Linked DNA regions of Homo sapiens: all the other regions are linked to region 2. The links are contacts of gene promoters, found by promoter capture Hi-C in blood cells and fetal thymus (Javierre and others, 2016). All regions are on one chromosome and are shown on one strand. The core of a region is centred on a gene start or on the middle of the fragment in contact, and the rest is flanking DNA. Distances in the headings are between cores, read along the strand shown.

Region 1 (3,066 bases), core at 486-2,985, 530 kb before region 2:
CTGGTGGCTACAGGGCACAAATAAAGAAAAAGTGCGTGGATGCCACGTACCAGTTCATGTCCAGCAGAGATCCGAATGCCCATTTTAGTTACATTTGACCCTCCAGACCCCTAGTCCCAGAACCTGCCCTCCCCCAAGCTCTCTCTCTACCTCTGTGCCCACTCCAATCAGTCAAACAGAGCATTCCAGGGCAAACCCAAAAGAAGAGCAGGCAATTTAGCCACCCTGGGGCTTGTAGCCTGAACTCTTCAGACATGTTGTCCCAGTCGGAGCCTGGAGACACAGCTCAACATCTGCTTGCCCCAAGAACCCTGAGGCTCCAAGATCTCCGGACAGCCCTGGAAGACAGGCCGCTGCACTTATATAATAACAGGGTCCTCTCTGGTGCCAAAAGCCTGCAACCCATAGCAGAAAATAGCTCCTCCAAATAGCTCTTCATCCTCCAAATAACTGGGAGATGATTCCAGTCAAGTTGGAATAACAGGGATCAGATTTACATTCCTGCTGTAAAGAACCAAAACCTAACAAAAAAGATGAAATGACACTTTTCAAGACATACAGTATTTGGTAAGGAAGAATAGTAACCCCTAATCACAGGGGAAAAAATGAATGATTGGAGAGAGGGGGAGGTGAACAGTAGGATTAGCCCCTAACTAAGGCCTTGAATTTCCAGGCCCCAATGCAGAAAGGCAGAACCCAAGCAGAGCCTGGTGGACTCCCAGAGTTGATGAGGAGTTGATAGACTGGGAGACTGGGGCAGCTAGAGTGAATATGATAGCATACCAGAAAGAAGAGAGCTGTAATAAGAGATAACTCCAGAAAGAACTTCTGAAGTATTCAGCTTAATATTCATGAGTATGTGCAGGTATGGAACCTATACAGGACAGAAAAGACTACCCAGAATGATCAGAGGTAATATGATATTGAATTGTCTAAAGTAACTAAGAAATTGTTTCTCCTTGTGAGACAAACAGGAATTATATTGCTGAATTTAATGCTTTCACCACAAAAAAGGATGAGGGTCTAGATTAATGGGGAGGGGGAGTGGTGTGGGGGAAGAGACCCAAAATGTTGGCTGGTTAGTTCAGTTGGTTAGAGCGTGGTGCTAATAACGCCAAGGTCGTGGGTTCGATCCCCATATCGGCCACATATTTTCCTCAGTACTTTTTCTCGGTAGTTCTAGAGAAACTCGTCGGTTTTCAGCCACCAAAGAGCTAAGGATAATTAACAATGCAACTCGTCGGTTTTTAGCCAGCGAAGAGCTGAGGGTGATTAACAGTGCTCTCAGATGGTACAAATTCCCTGCCATCATTTCTTAATCTATCTGAAACCTAACTCCATCCCCGAATCACCCAAATTTCTACATCTCCTCAGGTAAAGTTCTTATTCTTTTCTTCCAGGTGTAAGGGCTGGGGACAGAAAGCTGTTCAGGGCAGAGGGCCCAAGATCGGGAGTCCTGCCGAAGGAAACAAAAAATGAGAAATTAGAAGATTATTGGCGTCTTAAAAATTATTTAAATAAAGCTTACTTGATTTCAAATTGTCCTTCCAAATTTCTATTGAAACCAACCTTGTTTCTCAAATTGACAAGAGATACAAGATAAAGAGAAGAAATATTGAATTGCCCTTTCAAGTTGGAAGCAGTATGCAAGGTGCATGTTTATTAATCACAAGAGGCTAGATTCGACTCCTTTCTAGCTCATCCTTTCCTAAAAACAAAACAAGAAACCAAACCAAAACAAAACAAAACACACCAAGTCTGTGTTCCATGTTCAAAGCGATAGCTTCCTCTCAGGGCAATCTTTTCTGTCAGTTAAATCTAAAAAAGTCTTCAGAGACATATAATAACAATCTCCTAAGAATTTGTTCTCTCTATCTTGTATCTCTTGCCAATTTGAGAAAGAAGGTTGGTTTCAGGAGCAATTTGGGAGGACAATTTGAAATCAAGTAAGCTTCATTTAAATAATTTTTAAAAAGCCAGTAATCTTCTAATTTTTTTTTTCTTTCATTAGGCAGAGCTCCCAATCTTGGGTCCTCTGCCCTGAACAGCTTTCTGTCCCCAGCCCTAACACCTAGTGGAAAAGAATAAGAACTTTACCTGAGAAGATGTAGAAATTTGGGTGATTCGGGAATGGAGTTAGAATTCAGATGGATTAAGAAATGATGGCAGCGAATTTGGACCATCTGAGAGCATTGTTTATTACCCTCAGCTCTTCACTGGCTGAAAACCGACGATTTGCATCGTTAATTATCCGTAGCCCTTCGCTGGCTGAAAACCGACGAGTTTCTGCAGAACTGCCATAAAAAACTACTGGGGAAAATACGTGGCCAGTACGGGGATCGAACCCGCGACCTTGGCGTTATTAGCACCACGCTCTAACCAACTGAGCTAACCAGCCGACGCTGGGTGCAGCTCTTCCCCCCCCACCCCCCGCCCTTAATCTCGACACTCATCCTTTTTTGGGAAAGCATTAAATTCAGCAATATAATTCTTGTTTGTCTCACAAGAAGAAACAATTTCTTAGTTGCTTTAGATTCTTAATAAAAAGAATGAGAAACTTTCTCTTAAAACAAAAACAAAACAAGGAAATAACATTTTTTATTTATTTATTTTTATTATTTTATTTTTTAAGCCGTGTTCCTAGAGTTGAAAGAGGACGCTTAAAAATTTCAAACTGCGGCGAATAGTCCAGGAATCCATGGAAACATTTGTTGCTTTCTAAATGTCTGGTAATCAGTACGTGCAGACAATGAATCAGACTCGGTGAAATATTAGCGAGTCCTTGTTTTGTAAGAGCCGTTCACTAACACAACCCAGAAATTGGCACCTGAAGGATATTCCCGACGAGTCTGTTTTCGATGGTCCCACCGTCGAGATCGTCCCAGGCAGGTTTCTCATGCCCGGAGCCTCCATTTGGAAGTTTCCCTACCTGTTGCCTCAGATTTCCAGAGTGACCTCAAATCAAAGCCCACTTTGAAGACCTTGGTATTGGAGAATTCTAGAAATGTGGCTCTACTCACCCTTCAGGGACGGTTAAACCGATCTTTCTACCCAGCCATTGTCTCC
Region 2 (2,874 bases), core at 101-2,600:
CTCTGGCATCTTTTGCTAGCAGGCATTGACAATTAGGAGAAGGCAAGGTGTTAACTTTTACTGATCTCCCACTTTTTTTTTTGAGACAAGGCCTGGCTTTATCACCCAGGCTGGAGTGCAGTGGTGCGATCTCAGCTCACTGTAAACTCCGCCTACCAGGCTCAAGCCATCCTCCTACATCAGCCCCCTAAGTAGCTGGGACAACAGGGGCGCGCCACCACTCCTGGCTAATTTTTGTGCTTTTTGCAGAGACGGGGTTTTGCTATGTTGCCCAGGCTGGTTGCGAACTCCTGGGCTCAAGGGATCCGCCCGCCTCCACCTCCCAAAGTGCTGGGATTACAGGCATGAGCCACCGCGCCCACCCCTCTAGTTTCCAGTTTAGTCGGAAAGATTAAAAACGCCAGCCTTGTTTTCCTAGTGCTGTTTTTGGTTTTTACCTCGGGTCTTTTGTCGTGCCTTAAAATCATGTCTGGTTGCGCAAGTGAGGGAAAGGATTGGGTAAAGGGGGCGCCACCGCAAGTTGCTGTGCAACATCCAGACATCACCAGACCCACCACCTGGAGCCTGGCCTGGCGGTGTCAAACGCATTCTGGTCTCATCTTTTTAGAAACCCGTGGATGCTCAAGGAATTTCCGGATAACGTGATCCCGGATGCGCTTGACTGACTTACACGGAACGAGCAAAGCGCAAAGCAGTCCCTGCTAAGGACTTAGTTTATGCCCTCAAGCGCAAAGGTCGGACCCTCTATGGTGTTGGTAGCTATATGCACGTACCTCATGTACATTTCACCTTAAATGGCTTTCAAAGAGCTAGATTAATTTAGTGGATAGATCAAAATGATTTATGACCCCTCGCCCCCCAGTGATAGGAAGAGCGAACCAGCTCTTCTTTAGATAATAGTGAGTGGCTCTGAAAAGAGCCTTTGGGTTGGACAAGAGCTTGAGAATTTACTTGGAGCTGGTGTACTTGGTGACGGCCTTGGTGCCCTCCGACACCGCGTGCTTGGCCAGCTCCCCCGGAAGCAGCAGGCGCACGGCGGTCTGGATCTCCCTGGAGGTGATGGTCGAGCGCTTGTTGTAGTGCGCCAGGCGGGAAGCCTCGCTTGCGATGCGCTCGAAGATGTCGTTGACGAAGGAGTTCATGATTCCCATGGCCTTAGAAGAGATGCCGGTGTCGGGGTGGACCTGCTTCAGCACCTTGTACACGTACACGGAGTAGCTCTCCTTGCGGCTGCGCTTGCGCTTCTTGCCATCCTTCTTCTGGGCCTTGGTCACCGCCTTCTTGGAGCCCTTCTTCGGGGCGGGAGCAGACTTGGCCAGCTCGGGCATAATGAAACAATAGTGGCAAAACCAAAACAAGAAGTCGGTCTCCTCTTTTTATATAATAGTTTATGCGGCCGAGGTAGTGGGAAGGTCTCTGCTGATTGGTAATTATCCGTGGATGACGACAGATGCCAGTTTTGCCCAATCAAAATAGGTATCCTGCATAATCGAGTCCTATTGGTCTAAATAAAAATAAAACGTAAGCCAATCGCACAGCTTCCTTTTCGCGCCCAGTAGAGGCTATAAAATGTACGTTTTTCTAGTTTCACTTCAGTCTTTCTTGACCGTATAGATAATAGGCCTTTTGCCATGTCTGGGCGTGGCAAGCAGGGAGGCAAAGCTCGCGCCAAGGCCAAGACCCGCTCTTCTCGGGCCGGGCTTCAGTTTCCCGTAGGCCGAGTGCATCGCCTGCTCCGCAAAGGCAACTATGCGGAGCGGGTCGGTGCTGGAGCGCCGGTGTACCTGGCGGCGGTGCTGGAGTACCTGACCGCCGAGATCCTGGAGCTGGCTGGCAACGCGGCCCGCGACAACAAGAAGACTCGCATCATCCCGCGTCACCTCCAGCTGGCCATCCGCAACGATGAGGAGCTCAACAAGCTTCTGGGCAAAGTCACCATCGCACAGGGTGGCGTCCTGCCCAACATCCAGGCCGTGCTACTGCCCAAGAAGACCGAGAGCCACCACAAGGCGAAGGGCAAGTAGAAGCCTGGATTAGTTTGCAGCAACTCAATCCCAAAGGAACCAAAGGCTCTTTTCAGAGCCACCTACAATTTTGTGGAAGAACTGAGCACTATGTTTAATGTAATTTCTCGTCTTTGCCTACTTCTAAACCACTCCAAAGGTTACGTAGATCAGTCTTCGGTGTCTTGGTTAGGTAGTGACAATCTCGTTAGCTTTATAAAAAGCCTGGATAACATTAAAAGTATTAAACACGCCTTCATCTTAAGCTTAGTGGAAGAAAATTTAGTTTTTCCTAAGCTGGCATTATCCAAGTATGTTGAATTCTGTATGGTTCACCGTCGGGTTTTACTTTTAGTCTGTTGAAGCAAACATGTCTGCTTTGGGGCCAGATGTTTTCTGGGTCTTGGTAAATAACAAACCGGGCATTCGACGTTCAATCCAAATCTAGATCAACGACTTGGATTCTTCATTTCTGAGAAATATCTCTCGAATCTGTATAATTAATTGCATTTGAACATTAATGATTGAGTTGAGAATAATTATTAGACTAATTAGAACAGTTACTTATGGTGCCAGGTAGTTCTCTTTGAAGCATTTTCTGAAAATTCATTGAAATTAAAATTTCCCGAGCTTTCCCACCCCCAGCCACACAAATTGATTTCTTAGTACAGAGATGACTTAATTTGTTTCAGCATGGTAAATTCCACTTTTAAAATATCTGACTTGATGTTTTTAATCTGAATCAGATCTGGATGTACGAATGGAATAGATTCTTAAAAGAAAATGAATTACATTTCTAGAGTATTGGAAAAATAAGCTGCAATGGAATTACTTTAATCTAAAAGTGAAAAGTTCACATAAAGTTGTTTCT
Region 3 (3,263 bases), core at 145-2,644, 610 kb before region 2:
TTTCTTATCATAATTATTTTCTTTATTATACTGGAAGAGGTTGTGCCTTCAGTCTCTTGCCTCAGCACCTGGGTGGCTTTCTGCCCACATTAGATAAGGCCAAATTAAAAGACCAGGTTTTTAAAGCATCTCAGGCTCATTTAACTCTCCTGCCTGGGACTGACATTCTCACTGAAGCTACTGATGGACTTTCAGACATAAACCCTCTTAAATGGATTAAGACCATTAGAGGATCAACTATTGCAAATTTTGCTTTAATGTGTATCTGTTTATACTGTTTGCTTTTAGTCTACAAATACAGAAGACACCTCTAGAGAGAGACCAGACACCACGAACAAGCCTTAATAACAATGGTGGTTTTTAAAAAAAGTGGGGCATATTGGGAAAAAGGCTTGTGGGGTGCCTGCATAAGCTGGCCATAAAAATATGAGACAATAAGTTGTGGAAAGCCACAAGAGGCCTCTGAAGAGGAAAGCCTTCTTATCGCCATTATGTTCCCATGCTCTGAGTGCAACCTGCTCTCTTATCTATAAACACTGTGTTCAAGAAGAAAGACACTCCTTTGAAGCATTGGAATGTAGACAGACGTGCAGGCTCCTAGTTAAGCCCGCTCCCACTAGCTACACTCCGATAAGTTATAGATACGATGTTTGGGCACAAAGGAGATTCATTTAAACCGCTATTGCTATAGATTATGCCTATAACACACTGCCTCCCTTTCACCGTTTCGCCCTAAACGTCTGCTTCTTAGATGTAAGTGATTGTACTCAATAAATAGTGTGGAGACTGGAGCTTGGTGCCTTTTGCAGCCTCCATTTTGCAATTGGCCCCCTGGCCCCCACTCTTTATACACTTTAAACCTGTCTCTTCTCATTCCTTCGTCGCCACAAAGACTTTAACTACCCTATGGGTGGTGTTGAGGCTGGTCCCCAACAAAGATCTCTCTCCACTTAGAAAGCTTTGGAGGGGCTTCTCTCAGCTCTCCAGTCCTGGTACTTGGCAGCAGAAATACAAAGTGCGCTAGATTGATTTCTCTTAGTTTTGTGGCTGTGCTCACCAACTTCAAAAGACTTTGCACCTGAGGATGCCTCAGTGGATATTCCTCTCCACTTTCCAGCCTGCCCATTCACCTTCTTTTGGGATGCTCTCCTCTAGCAGAGACAACTGGCAGTGGTTTTTTGGCTACTTGGAATTCTGTGCTTGGGTCAAGTAGGCCCACAGGCAAATCTTAAAAATCTTTTGGAGTTTTGATGGCTTTTTCCCTCATTTAGTATTCAAGGGTTTCTCTTCCTCTGCTTGTCTGCCCATCTGCCAGGAACAAGGGCAGCTAGAAACCTCTTTTCTCATATGAAGACCTCTTTCTAGGTGGAATTTGATTAGATTCCTTTGTATCAATTCCCTGGTGGGTTCAGAAAATCTACTATTTTGTAGCTTATGCTCTTGCTTTAGTTATTAAATAGAGAGAAACAGACTCTTGCAATTTTCTACAACTTAACCAGAAATGGAATTCAGTGGGGTGTATTTTTAAATACATTTCCTGATTTCTGTGCCAAAATGCCTTTTGTCATGTCTTGAAACTATTTCCTTTAAGATACATAGCAACAGCCTAGCCACTCTCACTTAGAAAACTAACCGTTTGAGGGTCCACTTCATGCCAGGTGCTTTGCATGTTGTTTTAGGTAAACTTTAAATCACACCTCATTGATCCAATGGATATTGAGATAGCCATTATTGTTCTTATATTTAAGTTATGCAAAGTCACAAATAATGTCAACATGATGACACAAAAACATCAAGAAGTGAAACGGCTAACTACCTACAAGTGCATTCCTAAGCTTTACTTAGACTTCTAGATGAATCTGCTGGTCACATGAAGAGTGACAGGATGTCACATAAGCATTTGTTTACATTTCAGAAAGTTACCTTTAATAGTGTCCATTGATTACACAGATGTTTACTGAGAACGTGACATGATCCAGTCTAGTCTTTTTTTTTTTTTTTGGAGAGAGAGTCTCGCTCTGTCGCCCAGGGTGGAGTGCAGTGGCACGATCTCAGCTAACTGCAACCTCCGCCTCCCAGGTTCAAGCAATTCTCCTGCCTTGGCCTCTGGAGTAGCTGGGACTACAGGCGCATGCTGCCACACCTACCTAATACTTTGTATTTTAGTAGAGATGGCATTTCACCGTGTTGTCCAGGCTGTTCTCGAACTCCTGAACTCAGGCAATCTGCCCGCCTCAGCCTCCCACAGTGGTAGGATTACAGGCGTGAGCTACCGCGCCCGGCTGATCCAGTCTATTCTTTACTGTGGTCATAATGGCCCCCAAACCACACGTGGTCTCTCCTCCACTCTTCCAGACCTCAAAATCCAGAGCACTCATGACTTCTTAATAATTGCTTAAGTATCCAGATGGTCTTCTCCACCTAGGGAGTATCTTTATTTTACCTTATGAAAGATCTTCTTGGCCGGGCGCTGTGGCTCACAACTGTAATCTCAGCACTTTGGGAGGCCACCACGGACAGATCACTTCAGGTCAGGAGTTCAAGACCAACCTGACCAACATGGTGAAACCCCTTCTCTTCTAAAAATACAAAAATTAGCCAGGTGTGATGTGCCACGCCTGTAGTTCCAGCTACTGGAGAGGCTGAGGTGGGAGAATCGCTCAAACCCAGAAGGCAGGTGGAGGTTGCAGTGAGCAGAGATCACACCACTTCACTCCAGCCTGGACAACAGATTGACACTCCGTCAAAAAAAAAAAAAAAAAAAAAAAAAAGACAGGTGCAGTGGCTTATGCCTGTAATCCCAACACTTTGGGAGGCCGAGGTGGGCAGATCACGAGGTCAGGAGATCAGGACCATCCTGGCTAGCATGGTGAAATCCCATCTCTAATAAAATTCAAAAAATTAAATGGGCGTGGTGGCATGCACCTGTAATCCCAGCTACTCAGGAGGCTGAGGTAACAGAATTGCTTGAACCTGGGAGGTGGAGGTTGCAGTGAACCAAGATCACACCACTGCACTCCAGCCTGGATGACAGAGCGAGACTCTGTCTCGGAAAAAAAAAAGAAAAAAGAAAAGAAAAGTAATGTCTTGGCTGGGCACAGTGGCTCACACCTGTAATACCAGCACTTTGGGAGGCTGAGGCGGGTGGATCACCTGAGGTCAAGGGTTCCTGACCAGCATGTTGAAACCCCCTCTCTACTGAAAATACAAAAATTAGCTGGGCGTGGTGATGTGCACCTGTAATCCCAGATACTTGGGGGGCT
Region 4 (3,149 bases), core at 33-2,532, 690 kb before region 2:
TAACCTTCCTTTATACAATCATTCTTTATGACCTTCCTTACCAAAAATACATCTCCACATCCATAACTTTCTTCACATCTCTCTCCTACTTATAGATTCCTTATTTCATAGCCTTTTCTAATCCATAATTTGAATCAACCTTTATATAGTTTCTGAATTTGACAAAATTATTATCTCAATAAGAACACATTTTAACTAAATATTTTTATTTGCCACTTCAAAAGTTACCTAAGCCTCTTCCATGGAGATGGTAAGGTGTCCAGTGGGAGCTGTGGGGGACCTTGGGCCCGGTCAGTCTTGTTTTCTTGGCCATTATGGGTTTGGGTAGCCTAGGCTCCCTTTGAAGCTTGGAACAGTCCCTTTTTCAATGGCCCTCTTGCTTACAGAAGGCACAGTGATATTGGCCCTGGGGCCAGCAAGTTCGGGGCTCTCATCTGGGCATCTGAGATGCTGATCTCAAATCTCCTCAGGCTGGCTAACCCTGAGGTGGGAGAGGGTGCTTAAAGTAGTCACTAACAATTGCATTTTGGATATTATTTCTTTTGGTTATCTCTGCCTGTTTTGACCTGTGCCTATTGTTGTAAACTGGAAAGGCCATATTTAAAAATTGGCTTATAGGAGTTTGCGTTTCCCCTTTCTGCCTGTTATAGCTTCCTCCTAACATCAAGGACAGACTGAGTGATAAAAGAGTTTGCCTTTCTGGGGAGTCTGTCCTGCAATATTTCCTGAGTGCCTCAACCAAACAGCCCTGACTAGAATAGGATTTTTATCCTCCCCTACAGTTACTTCTCTAACCTTGTCATAATTAACTGGATTAAGCACACTTTCATATCTTCTATTAAACAAGTTACCTATGATTTCTACATTTGAGATCTCAGGAACCCCTCTGGTAATCCCATGGGGGTCCAAATCTGGAAGTACACTCCCACATACAATAAATGGCATGATCCTGGTTACAAGCAGCCATTCCATCAGCATATGCCCAGGCAGTATTCAAAAATCCCTTGTTTCTCCTCTACAGCACAGCAGGTGGACACTATTTGCAAGTCATGCCAAGTTACATCAAACTATAAACTTCCCTGGATCCTCTGATACCAGCCAATGTTTCCCTTGCATGAAGCTAAATCAGACATGGAAAAAGGCACAAGTACTGTTCCCGCCATTAGCAACGTCTCAACCTCTCACAATAGATGTAAGTTTGATTTTAAGGGCTGATAGGACTTTATCACTCCTGATTAGACTGGTTGGACTTATTTCCTCAGGCAGTATGGCATATAGGCTGGAGCTAGTTGGTTAAAGCAGAGGGGTGCCTGATGAACTTGGGATGGAATCCTGTAGTGGAGAACTGGCAGGACCCCCTTCCTCATATTAAGGCACCAAGGAGGCTCCAGGGAGAGTGAACCATTTTTAGGCCAAATTTCTTGGGAAATTAATTTGTACTAAACACTGTTATAATAGAAGATGAGTTTTTAAGACATCAAATTTGAATTTGCTTTAGTTGCCTAAAAGGCACCCTAGCAGGAAGTGTTTCAGGACGCTCACTGTTGTTATGTCTACCAGAGATACCTACTAAACCCAGAAATTCTTCCAAGTCCAGAGAGTCCAGTTACTTTTCCTTTCAAATTTCCACCTCCCTTTTCTTCAAGAGCAGTAGGGAAATTACCACTGACTCCTGCCAAAAGAACATGGGTATCAAGAAGTAGGTGCCACAAAAGTGAAAGATGAGTGGGCAGTGGGCTGGCAACTACCATCACTAGCTAATGGAATGTTACAAAGAAGGCACTTTAAGTATGGAAGTAAAAAAACGCTGACCAAATTAAGAACCCTTAGTGGAAATTTAAACCCCAATCTTAGAAAGGTGACCAAAAAACAAAGCCCCTAGGGCAGGACTCTCAATTCTAACGCCACGTAGAGTGGGACTGACAATAACCCAATAAATTCCCCCTAGAGTGGGACTCTAACCCAATCCTAGAAGGAACATGGCTCTGACATACAACCATGCATTTAGGAACTGAATGGTAATATCAAGTAGCCAGTCATTAGAGATTTAATAGACGATGGTCAAAAACGGGGCAATGGGGACATAATCTGAACATGGGACTAGCTGGAGGCCCCACTTTCATTTCCTGGTTTACCCAGAAAGGTCAATATGACAGGGAAATCACAGAAACCACATGGTGCCAATTGGCCATTAATTTGGGTCCAGGCAAAGGTTTCCAAAGCTTCAGTGTACAACCAGTTAGTCACCAAGAAAACATGGCTCTGAAAAGAGCCTTTGGCTAGTATATAGCATTACAGTATCACAACTCCAAACTTTATCTTGATGGTCAACCCGCTCATCTTGATGCTCCCTTCATGGTCTCTTCATTTTGATGGTTCCTTCCTTCAGGGTCACCAGGCTGACACAGGTGAACCCCAAAATTGGGACTTAACCCTGGAGGGCTTTTGGCTTCAGAGTTAATTTAAAAACACTTCCTAGACCAATAGTGTACAGCAAACTGCTCCATAAACAAAGGGCGACCTGTGTGCTAACCCACAGGCAGCACAGCCTGTAGTAGTAGTATACAGAAAAGTGGGTGCTCCACAGAGCACAAGCTAACCCACAGGCAGAGCAGCCAAGTAGCAGCATGCAGCAAAGTGGGCGCTCCACACAGCACAAGCTAACGCACAGGCAGAGCAGCCCAGAGTAGCAGCATGCAGCATAATAGGTGCTCCACAGAGCAAGGCTCACCCATAGAGCATCCCAGAGTAGCAGCATAGTACAGCAAAGCGGGTGCTCCACAAAGCAAGGCTAACCCATAGGCAGAGAAGCCTACAGCAACTGTGTACAGCAAGGTGGATGCTGCAGAAAGCACAACTAACCCACAGGCAGAACAGCCCAGAATAGCAGTGTACAGCAAAGTGGATGCTCCACCAGTAGAACAGACAGGAAGGGCAGGAGCAGTGTTCAGCAACAGGAGCAGTCCAGAGCAGGAGTCAGAGCAGGAGCCAGAACTGAAGAAAGAGCCACAGTAAAGCACACAGGCTAGCTATATTTATACCCACTATTAATTATATGCTAATTAAGTAGTGTGTTATTCAGAATTTTCTAGAAAAGGGGTGGGGGGAGCTCCCAGAACCCTATAGGGTAACTTCTGAGTCATGTCCAT
Region 5 (3,264 bases), core at 152-2,651, 570 kb before region 2:
TGATAAGAAGAACCTGAAAAGATTAACATTTTAAATATTTAATATTATCAATATAAAATGCAAGATAAAATAAGTTATTACTCAACCTACATTACATTGGAAGAATTAGAAAGCTTGATGTGTCCATTATTGCAGAAATGGGAATATGGAAGCCCTCATATCCTGCTGGTGGAAGTTTATATTAATGTAGCCATTTTGGAAAGCAGTCTAATACTTTTTACTCAAGTTAAGATTGACACACTCAATGACCTAGGTATTCGGCTCCTAGGTGTATATTCCCCCTCATGTCACAAAGATATAGATTGTATCATATGTGGATGTTAATTGCCTCACTATTTTTCCTCTTCCAGAATCAGATTCAGCCTTGAAGCCAACATTGAACAGTAGATACGTGAAGTGTGGTAAACACATAATATTAAATATTATGCAACTATGAGATGTACTAGAGTATATGTAAATGTACCAATCTTTTTTTTTTTTTTTTTTTTTCTTGAGATGGAGTCTCACTCTTTCACCCAGGCTGGAATGCAATGCCATGATCTTGGCTCACTGCAACCTCCACCTCCCTGGTTCAAGGAATTCCCCTGCCTCAGTCTCCCGAGTAGCTGGGATTACAGGCACACGCCACCACGCCCGGCTAATTTTTTTTGCATTTTTAGTAGAGATGGAGTTTCACCATGTTGGCCAGGCTGGTCTCGAGCTCCTGACCTTGTGATCTGCCTGCCTTGGCCTCCCAAAGTGCTGGGATTACAGGCCTGAGCCATAGCGCCTGGCCGCATGTACCAATCTTAAAAAGAAATTTTTTTTTAAAAAGATACTTGGCCGGGCGCGGTGGCTCACGCCTGTAATCCCAGCACTTTGGGAGGCCGAGGCGGGTGGATCATGAGGTCAGGAGATCGAGACCAGCCTGGCTAACAAGGTGAAACCCCGTCTCTACTAAAAATACAAAAAATTAGCCGGGCGCGGTGGCGGGCGCCTGTAGTCCCAGCTACTGGGGAGGCTGAGGCAGGAGAATGGCGTTGAACCCGGGAAGCGGAGCTTGCAGTGAGCCGAGATTGCGCCACTGCAGTCCGCAGTCCAGCCTGGGCGACAGAGCGAGACTCCGTCTCAAAAAAAAAAAAAAAAAAAAAAAAAAAAAAGATACTTAACACAATAAGATTTTCCCTTCTGTTAGCACTAATCATTCTGCTCTCTGGCATTCAAAATCTTGCTACTTGCTACTGCTCATCATTTTCTCATCTTTTTGTCCCTGTGTATTTATGTCTTTAAACACCCTTAATGCTTTGTATAAGTGTAGTTTGGAATAAAGAGAAAGCAAAAGCTGTGCTTAATTTGCCATCATTATAATTAGGTCTATCTGTGACTTACTATGATTTTTTCTCACCATGGAATCCTAAGGATTGGTAAAATAGTGTGTGGTGATATCCACTTGTGGTGATAGGGAACCATCATTTTATTGGGATCAAATACCAAAGAGTCTAGAAAATAAAATTTTACGTCAAATTTTCTTGTCTCTCATTTCACCACTTCAGTCTATTGAGGTTAAGCTGAAAGAACAAATATCACATCCAGGACAGAACCTCATTTGCAAGCTGCTTGCTATTTTTCTGACCACTTTCCCTAAGTTCTGACAAATGCTGGCTCAGTTACTACTATTCCGCCTTCCTTACCGCTCCAACTTTTCAAAATATAGAGCTAAAAGCCAGATCCACATGAGCTGCCCTAGAAAGACGCAAATGCCTTTATATCCTGGGCATTTTCTATTCCTGGGGTTCTGGACTCAAGACCTTCTCAGGCCATCTGAATCCCTGGCCTACTCTTTGTTGGCTGAAGCTGGCAGCTTTCCACATTTTTCACAGCTTCCATGCTAGTCTCAGAAATCAGCTGTTAATTTGGTATTCTGAATGTTTGGCAATTGTAAGCACTTGGGCTTTGTGGAGGGCCCTTTATGGAAGCCAGAAAAAAATGAGGAAATGTTAGCCAGACCCCAGAACCCTGTAGTCTGCTGGAGCAGGCAACCAGATGATAACAATTGTAAAATAATTCATTGGTCTCTCTATTATGAAATTTAAAAAGCAGGATAAAGGGATCAGTCCTTGGTTTATTTTGGATCTCCTGCAGAGCAAAACCATGACCTTCTGCATATAACACACAGTGATAATCACTACACTAACACAAAATGTCATAGCTGAGGACAGGTACAAATGCTAGAAAAAAAATGGCTACAGTAAAATCCAAGGATAGTCTCACTACAAGATAAAGTAAGGAGAGTATTTCAAGTGCTAAACAATTTTATATGCATCTCAATTGGCACAAGTTTGAAAGACCCATCAATTACAATACACTGAAAAAAGGTAAGTTTAGATATCCAAAACTGAACTCTTGATTGTTACTTGTTCTCATTCATTCATTCACTAAAGAAATGTTAATTAATTCTCTACTAAAAGTCCTAAGCCAGAGACTATTAAGTAGCTGGGAATAAAGCAGTGGACACGACAGACAAAATATCCTTTTCCTCATGGAATTTATGTTTTAATTCCTATCAAATAGCTGTTGATGATCAAATATGCTATCTTTTGACGAAAATTTTTACCATAGTTAGCAGAACTCTATCGCTTCTTTAGGATTTATAAAATCTAGCCTACTAGATGCTTTTCACTATGCTAAGGATGAGATAATTATGGATGAGGAAGCTTATCCTCATGTTCATATATATATATGTATATAAAACAGCAAAAAATACATAGTGTGAGAAGCATATATACATATATATACATATGTGTAAATATACATATGTATTTATTACCAATTACCATGTATGATATATAGATATTTGCTCATTGGTAACTGATCCTAATGAATACGGTTGTTCTGTCTTGATTTTAAACTTCCCCTTACACACCCAAGCTATTTATTTCTTGTTATACGCCTTTGCATGAACACTGCGTCTGCCTTTTGTTTCAAACCTCAAGAAAGAGTCTCATTTAGGAGTAAGCGGGACTTTGAATGAATCTCACTGACAGGCTGCTAGCATGAAGAAAAAAATACTCGAGGTCACCAATATCCTGCTTAATTTTCAGTCATCGAGAAATGAACATTAGAGCGTCTTATGAGAGCAGAGAGCAGAGAACATACCAAAAAAAAAAAATGAACTGAAATAAAATTTCCCGAGAGACTGCCTGATATTTCCCCGCCCTGTGCTTCTGAAGGAATTGAAGCTTCAGGAGAAGCATTTGCTTGATTTCGAGTTGTCGGGTTTTAAAC
Region 6 (3,282 bases), core at 228-2,727, 510 kb before region 2:
GGTTAGAGCGTGCTGCTACTAATGCCAGGGTCGAGGTTTCGATCCCCGTACGGGCCTTTGGCTTTTTCCCCCCTCGAGAAATTTGGTTTTCATGCTCTAAGATGATTCAAATTAACCGTCCCCATTTCTTAACGAACCTAGAACCTAAGTTCGTTTCCGAATCATCTGAAATGCTACATCTCCCCAGGTAATAATCTTCTTCTTCTTCTTCTTCTTTTTTTAAATGTTCTTTCTGTTTCCTCCAGGAATAAGGGTTGGGGACAGAAAGCTGTTCAGAGCAGAGACCTCCAAGACTGGGAGCCTGCTTAATGAAAGGGGGGGGGGGCGGGGAAGAGTTCAAGGAGTGGAAAAATAACTGGCATTTTTTTTAAAAAAATAAAGCTTATTTGATTTCAGATTTTCCTTCCAAATTAGTCCTGAAACCTACCTTCTTTCTCAAATTGTAGAGACACAAGATAAAGAGAATAAATCCTTAGAAGGTTGTGGATATGTGTCTCTGAAAACCCTTTCGAATTTAACTGACAGACGACATTGTCCTGTGAGGAAGCTATCACTTTAAACAAGGAACACAGACTTTTTGTTTTGTTTTGTTCACAGAAACCGATTCTGTGTGTGTGTGTGTGTGTGTGTGTGTGTCTGTGTTTGTGTTTTCACATGGGCTCCTGTGTGTGTCACAAAGGGATATGCGAGGGAGAAGCAGGGAGTTTTCTTTGTGTCCGTTTGGAAGTTTACCCTGCACATATTTCTCATTGGTGAAGGGCAGTGGAAGGACCAGGGGAGCTATGCACTGTCCTGGGAAACTCCAGAGGGACCTTTGTCTACCCTTCCCCTTCTTTCCCTGAGTTGCTATCCTAGGGTTGCTGGGATCTTCCTCTAACCCAGTAGTTCAAGTGCATTTATTTCAGCTTTCTGTAAACAGCAAAGTGGCTCCCCTGTGACTTCGGTAAAATCTTTCCATAACGTGTCCTTAAAAACGCTACATGTTACCCTGGTAAAAACGATTTTTGAGAAAATAATTAGATCTATAACGAAAAGGAGTAAAGCATCTCAGGTATCTGACTCAAATTTCTCACCTGTAAAATAGAGATTATGGGTCCCATCTCACAGCGTGGTTGTGAGCCTCACAGGTAAGGTAACAATAGAAAACACTTGTCACAAAAACTGGCACACGGTAACCTGGCATACTGTGTGCCTGGCACCTGGCACACAGTCTTGTTTAACAATCTCACTTGTCTACCATTGATGAAATAGAGGCCGAGGCCCGGGGCGCCAAGCTCCTAAAGCACTTGAAAGGAGTGGTTTAGGATTAGAGGACTCCTGACAGTTGGAAGTCAACGTTTTCCATTAAGACTGTGGTGTAAAAGGTGTTGAATGTAGGCATGTGGCAGGTAAGCGTCTTCTTGACTTAATCCTCCAAGAGGAAAAGCAGAATGCACCCATCACCCAAACTATGGGGCGGAGGGAAGGAACCTAAAGTGGAGAAATAGGTCACCTATGACTTTAGGAAATGCTAGTTCAGCTTCAGGTTCCATGGTGTAATGGTTAGCACTCTGGACTCTGAATCCGGTAATCCGAGTTCAAATCTCGGTGGAACCTTGGATTTAGTCCTCTGCAGTCAAATCCCCATCGTCTCTCCACAATCTATACTGTTGCTCATACAAATCACTCGACCAAATTTTATTCCTGGTATTTCCACGTCACATCTCTTGAGCGGAGTATCTTTAGCTGCCAACCAAATAATAACTTTCTTTTTGCTGCGCACAATTTGTTCTTTGGAGAAAAAAGAGAGAAGCCTCAAAAGGAAATGCACGAGGCAGTCGCTCGAGTCCTGCTGGAACTGCAAATCAAAGTCTCCAGAAAAGATCTGCAAACAAGTGAGGAGACAATAGATAGGAGGCTAGTGAGAAGAGAGAAAGGAAATTTGGTGATAGTCACGAACAGAGAAAAGCTGGGATGGAAACTGAGGAAAGGACTTACCCACTAAATGGGTCTGGGAGAGGTGACAGTCGCCGAAGCCGAGAGAAAACTGTCCTCAGACAAGACCACAAGGGGATAGAAGCTCAACTTGTGAGGGCTGGGCAGATAGAACAGGTGACGGGAAAGATACAACTGGCGATAGTCAATAGTCAATAGAGATAGATGCTGTTTCGAGTTTGCACAAGCAAGTTTTACTTGGACAGAGAAGAGGGGGAAATGAGCTGAAAAGACTCCCTTTCCCAGGATAACAGAGTTTACTCTACGCCCTCTCCCCGCCAATCTCCCCAGCCACCAACCTCCCGCAGCGTTTCCTAGTGAGGGTTCCCTGAGCTCATTGCTGGGCGCTCAGCAACTCGGCTTTCTTGGCATTTCCGTCTGGGCATGGACAAGCTCCTGAAGAAGGGGTTTCAGAGCTCGGACCCTCTTAGACAGATTGTAGAAGTTCAGTCACCCGGAAATTGCTGGGGCGGTTTGGTTTTGGAGAGAGGCGGGGACGAAAGAAGAAAGCTGTGAGCGAGGAGAGAAGGCAGGGAATGTGAACAGGAAAAAGCTCTTGCGCTAAGGAATGTCAGAGAAGCCAGCGCCCGGTGCAGCCGAGAAGCTTAGCGACAGGGTTGCTGGGCCGGAGACCACGAGATCCTAGAGGCTACAAAGAAACATTTCCCCATATGTGTCTCCCCTACCGCGCACTAGCTCCCTATGGGATGTGAATGCTCCCTACTTCCATCTTCCCCTGCAAATCATTCTCGCCTTTTAGATAATATCTTACCGTGACAGAACAACTGGAAATGCTGGTGTCTCCAAAGTCTTCTGTAAACAAGACACAGAGATGTGTGTCTCAATTGCGTATTTTACACGATTTTATGAAGGAACTGACAAATTCCTCATTTACTTCCGACTAATAACATTCCATTTTTAACAAAACGGAACGTACATATTGGGCCATGGAAAGTTAGTGTTTTCATTTTTTTTTACAATTATTGAGACTCGTAGGAAAATTCTTGGACTTTTATCAAATATGAATACAAATACAAATATGGATATCCGTAAAGTTATATATTTTACGTCCTCCCAAATCTCCTGCTCGCCATCACTTTTATTTATTGCTAAAATTTATTTATTAAATTTAGATAAACGTAATGAGAATGTGTTGAAGATTCCACTTTAAATAATGCACCTTAAATAATCATAAAAACACCTTTTGGAAGGCTCGGACTTATTCAAAACCACAATCTACTGATCTTTTTGTTGTTAATTCCACTGAACCTTTCTTATTCCGGCTATAAGAAGTATTTATCCGCGGAC
Region 7 (2,919 bases), core at 139-2,638, 590 kb before region 2:
AGTATCATTCTTGTTGCCCAGGCTGGAGTGCAATGGCGCGATCTAGGCTCACTGCAACCTCTGCCTCCCGGGGTCAAGCGATTCTCCCGCGTCAGCCTCCCGAGCTGGATTACAGGCATGTGCCACCACGCCCGGCTAATTTTTGTGTGTGTTTTTGGTAGAGACGGGGCTTCACCATGTTGGCCAGGCTGGTGTCGAACTCCTGACCTCAGGTGATCCACCCACCTCGGCCTCCTGGAGTGCTGGGATTACAGGCGTTAGCCATCGCACCCAGCCTGAGACATGTTTCTTAAAATCTTTTCTGTTGCATAGAGTCTTATAATTACAGAGGAAATTACTTCCTCTGTAATGGTTTTGTGGTTATGGTTGTTTTGTTATGATTCTTTGGAGAATGAGATGGAAAACATATGATGTATACCCCAAGAATGTATTTTATTCCATTTTCTTTTTCATTATCTCAAAATTTTAAAGTATTTTGATCTCTACTGTTCCACACAAAGCATCAGTATCCAACATAAGTATATTAAAAAATGAAATTATTTAATGAATGAACAGATGAACCGACTGCATAAATTAATGAAGCTTTCACAAGTGCAATAGACACAAGGGGGCGGTGGCTCACGCTTCTAATCCCAGCACTTTGGGAGGCTGAGGTGGGCGGATCACCTGAGATCGGGAGTTCGAATCCAGCCTGACCAACATGGAGAAACTCTGTCTCTACTAAAAATACAAAATTAGACAGGCGTGGGTGGCGCATGCCTGTAATCCCAGCTACTCGGGAGGCTGAGTCAGGAGAATCGCTTGACCCCGGGAGACAAAGGTTGCGGTGAGCCGAGATTGCCCCATTGAACTCCAGCCTGGTCATCAAGAGCGAAACTCCATTTCAAAAAAAAAGAAAAAACGGAAAACACACAGGATGATATTTTTCTTTAAAAATTAAAAAAAAAAAAAAAAAAAAGGCCGGGCGCGGTGGCTCATGTCTGTAATCCAAGCACTTTGGGAGGCCGAGGCGCTCTGATCACCTTAGGTCAGGAGTTCGAGACCAGCCTGGCCGACATGGTGAAACCCCGTCTCTACTTAAAATACAAAAATTATCCGAGCGTGGTGGCAGGCGCCTGTATTACTAGCTACTCGGGAGGCTGAGGCAAGAGAATTGCTTGAACTCGGGAAGCGGAGGTTGCAGTGAGCCGAAATCGCGCCATTGCCCTCCAGCCTGGGGGACAAGAGCGAGAATTCGTGTGTGGGGGGGGGAAGAAAATAAGCCTCCGAGCCAGCCAGGAGTCGAACCTAGAATCTTCTGATCCGTAGTCAGACGCGTTATCCATTGCGCCACTGGCCCGTCGTTGTGGGTCTCTCGATTATCTATTCTTCATTAGGATCACTAAGAAAATAGTTGGTTTGCAATACAACCAGGCGTACATTGAACAAGACTGTGGATTCTAGCAAAGCGCGATTGTCTTTGTGGTCAATTTAAATAAGTTTCACTCCCTTCAGATATTTATATTTATAAAGAAATTTTCTGCTTTGGAACATCATGTACATAATAGAGTTACTGTCGTTGACATTTGTTTACTTGATGTGCCCACTTCTTTCTTTTTTTCTTTTCTTTTCGTTTTTTTTTCTTTATGAGACGGAGTCTCCTTCTGTCACCAAGGCTGGAGTGGAGTGGCGCGATCTCGGCTGACTGCAACCTCCGCCTCCCCGGCTCAAGCGATTCTCCTGCCTCAGCCTCTCGATGAGCTGGGATTACAGGCGCGCGCCACCACGCCAGGCTAATTTTTTGTGTTTTTAATAGAGACAGGGTTTCACCATGTTGGCCAGGCTGGTGTCGAACTCCTGACCTCAAGTGATCAACCTGCCTCCCAAAGTGCTGGGATTACAGGCGTAAGCCACGGCGCCCGGCCTGGGAGATGTTTCTTAATGTCTTTTCTGTTGCATAAAGTATGAAATTATTTTCTCTGTAAGGATTCTTTGGTTATGTTTCTTTTGTTATGGTTCTTTGGAGAATGAAATGGAAAACATATGATGTGTACCTCAAGAAAGTATTCCATTTTCTTTTTCATTATCTCAAAATTTTTAAAGTATTTGGATCTCTGATCACTGTTCCACACAAAGCATCAGTATCCAACACAAGTATGTTTAAAAAATGAAATTATTTAATGAATGAGCAGATGCACCGACTGCATAAATTAATGAAGCTTTCACAAGTGCAATAGACACAAGGGGGCGGTGGCTCACGCTTGTAATCCCAGCACTTTGGGAGGCCGAGGCGGGCGGATCACCTGATGTCAGGAGCTGGAGACCAGCCTGGCCGACATGGTGAAACCCCGTCTCTACTAAAAATACAAAAATCAGCCGGGAGTGGTGGCGCGCGCCTGTAATCCCAGATACTCAAGAGGCTGGGGCAGGAGAATCGCTTGAACCCGAGAGGCGGAGGTTGCAGTGAGCCGAGATCGCGCCAGTGCACTCTAGACTGGGCGAGAGAGCAGGACTCTGTCTCATTAAAAAACAAAAACAAAAACAAAAAGCGGGTACATCAATGATAGATAATCGACAGACGCAGACTGAGTGGCCAGTAGTCAAAAGCGCAACCGAGGGCCAGTGGCGCAATGGATAACGCGTCTGACTACGGATCAGAAGATTCTAGGTTCGACTCCTGGCTGGCTCGGGTGTTAATCTTGGCTTTTTTTTTTTTTTTTTTTAAGAAAAATATCCTGTGTGTTTTCAAACTGATGACAGAAACCGGTTCTTAAAGTCCTTTGAAAGAAAATTCATCTGATCTGGCTCTTCACCTTGCACCGTACTGCTGCACATCACAATCGTGACCTTTAAGTCTGGTTTAAAGTTAAGTATCAAACTGAAATTTGAGACCTTAAGTCTCTTCGGAAATTGCTTTTTTTCTTTTTTTTTTTGAGACGG

The links. Contacts are between HindIII fragments. The CHiCAGO score rates a contact against its expected background, and 5 or more counts as called.
Region 1: a fragment that was not itself captured here is called in contact with the fragment with the promoter of H2BC13 in region 2 in 1 of 17 cell types (endothelial precursors); the score reaches 5.2 in endothelial precursors.
Region 3: a fragment that was not itself captured here is called in contact with the fragment with the promoter of H2BC13 in region 2 in 15 of 17 cell types (endothelial precursors, activated CD4 T cells, erythroblasts and 12 more); the score reaches 13.4 in endothelial precursors.
Region 4: a contact is called between a fragment that was not itself captured here and the fragment with the promoter of H2BC13 in region 2, in 5 of 17 cell types (activated CD4 T cells, total CD8 T cells, non-activated CD4 T cells and 2 more). The highest score is 7.0, in activated CD4 T cells.
Region 5: a fragment that was not itself captured here is called in contact with the fragment with the promoter of H2BC13 in region 2 in 2 of 17 cell types (endothelial precursors and erythroblasts); the score reaches 7.0 in endothelial precursors.
Region 6: a fragment that was not itself captured here is called in contact with the fragment with the promoter of H2BC13 in region 2 in 1 of 17 cell types (endothelial precursors); the score reaches 5.0 in endothelial precursors.
Region 7: a contact is called between a fragment that was not itself captured here and the fragment with the promoter of H2BC13 in region 2, in 4 of 17 cell types (megakaryocytes, erythroblasts, endothelial precursors and 1 more). The highest score is 6.7, in megakaryocytes.

What each region holds. Positions count from the first base shown.
Region 1 is chr6:27,272,887-27,275,952 of GRCh38, forward strand. It overlaps TRI-AAT9-1 (tRNA-Ile (anticodon AAT) 9-1), which reads left to right and starts at 1,074; the gene lies at 1,074-1,147. It overlaps TRI-AAT3-1 (tRNA-Ile (anticodon AAT) 3-1), which reads right to left and starts at 2,398; the gene lies at 2,325-2,398. The HindIII fragment of the contact is 428 bases long and covers 1,522-1,949 here.
Region 2 is chr6:27,806,579-27,809,452 of GRCh38, forward strand. It overlaps H2BC13 (H2B clustered histone 13), which reads right to left and starts at 1,351. Exons shown (of 1, transcript NM_003519.4): 1 at 901-1,351. The coding sequence starts at 1,328. The coding sequence ends at 948. H2AC13 (H2A clustered histone 13) reads left to right here and starts at 1,595. Exons shown (of 1, transcript NM_003509.3): 1 at 1,595-2,089. The coding sequence starts at 1,632. The coding sequence ends at 2,024. It also overlaps the pseudogene H4C10P. RefSeq lists enhancers at 56-656, 657-1,256, 819-918, 1,169-1,398, 1,739-1,938 and 1 more. The HindIII fragment of the contact is 5,899 bases long and covers 1-1,917 here.
Region 3 is chr6:27,195,345-27,198,607 of GRCh38, forward strand. No RefSeq gene overlaps it. Among named protein-coding and RNA genes, the nearest start is that of TRV-CAC6-1, 9.2 kb to the right of the region's middle. The HindIII fragment of the contact is 877 bases long and covers 957-1,833 here.
Region 4 is chr6:27,112,133-27,115,281 of GRCh38, forward strand. No RefSeq gene overlaps it. Among named protein-coding and RNA genes, the nearest start is that of TRS-GCT1-1, 16 kb to the left of the region's middle. RefSeq lists an enhancer at 3,079-3,149. The HindIII fragment of the contact is 1,876 bases long and covers 345-2,220 here.
Region 5 is chr6:27,232,115-27,235,378 of GRCh38, forward strand. No RefSeq gene overlaps it. Among named protein-coding and RNA genes, the nearest start is that of TRV-AAC5-1, 1.8 kb to the right of the region's middle. The HindIII fragment of the contact is 2,580 bases long and covers 112-2,691 here.
Region 6 is chr6:27,293,909-27,297,190 of GRCh38, forward strand. It overlaps TRQ-CTG5-1 (tRNA-Gln (anticodon CTG) 5-1), which reads left to right and starts at 1,525; the gene lies at 1,525-1,596. It also overlaps the pseudogene TRS-ACT1-1. The HindIII fragment of the contact is 2,197 bases long and covers 380-2,576 here.
Region 7 is chr6:27,212,578-27,215,496 of GRCh38, forward strand. TRR-ACG2-2 (tRNA-Arg (anticodon ACG) 2-2) reads right to left here and starts at 1,339; the gene lies at 1,267-1,339. TRR-ACG2-3 (tRNA-Arg (anticodon ACG) 2-3) reads left to right here and starts at 2,596; the gene lies at 2,596-2,668. RefSeq lists an enhancer at 2,566-2,919. The HindIII fragment of the contact is 1,616 bases long and covers 581-2,196 here.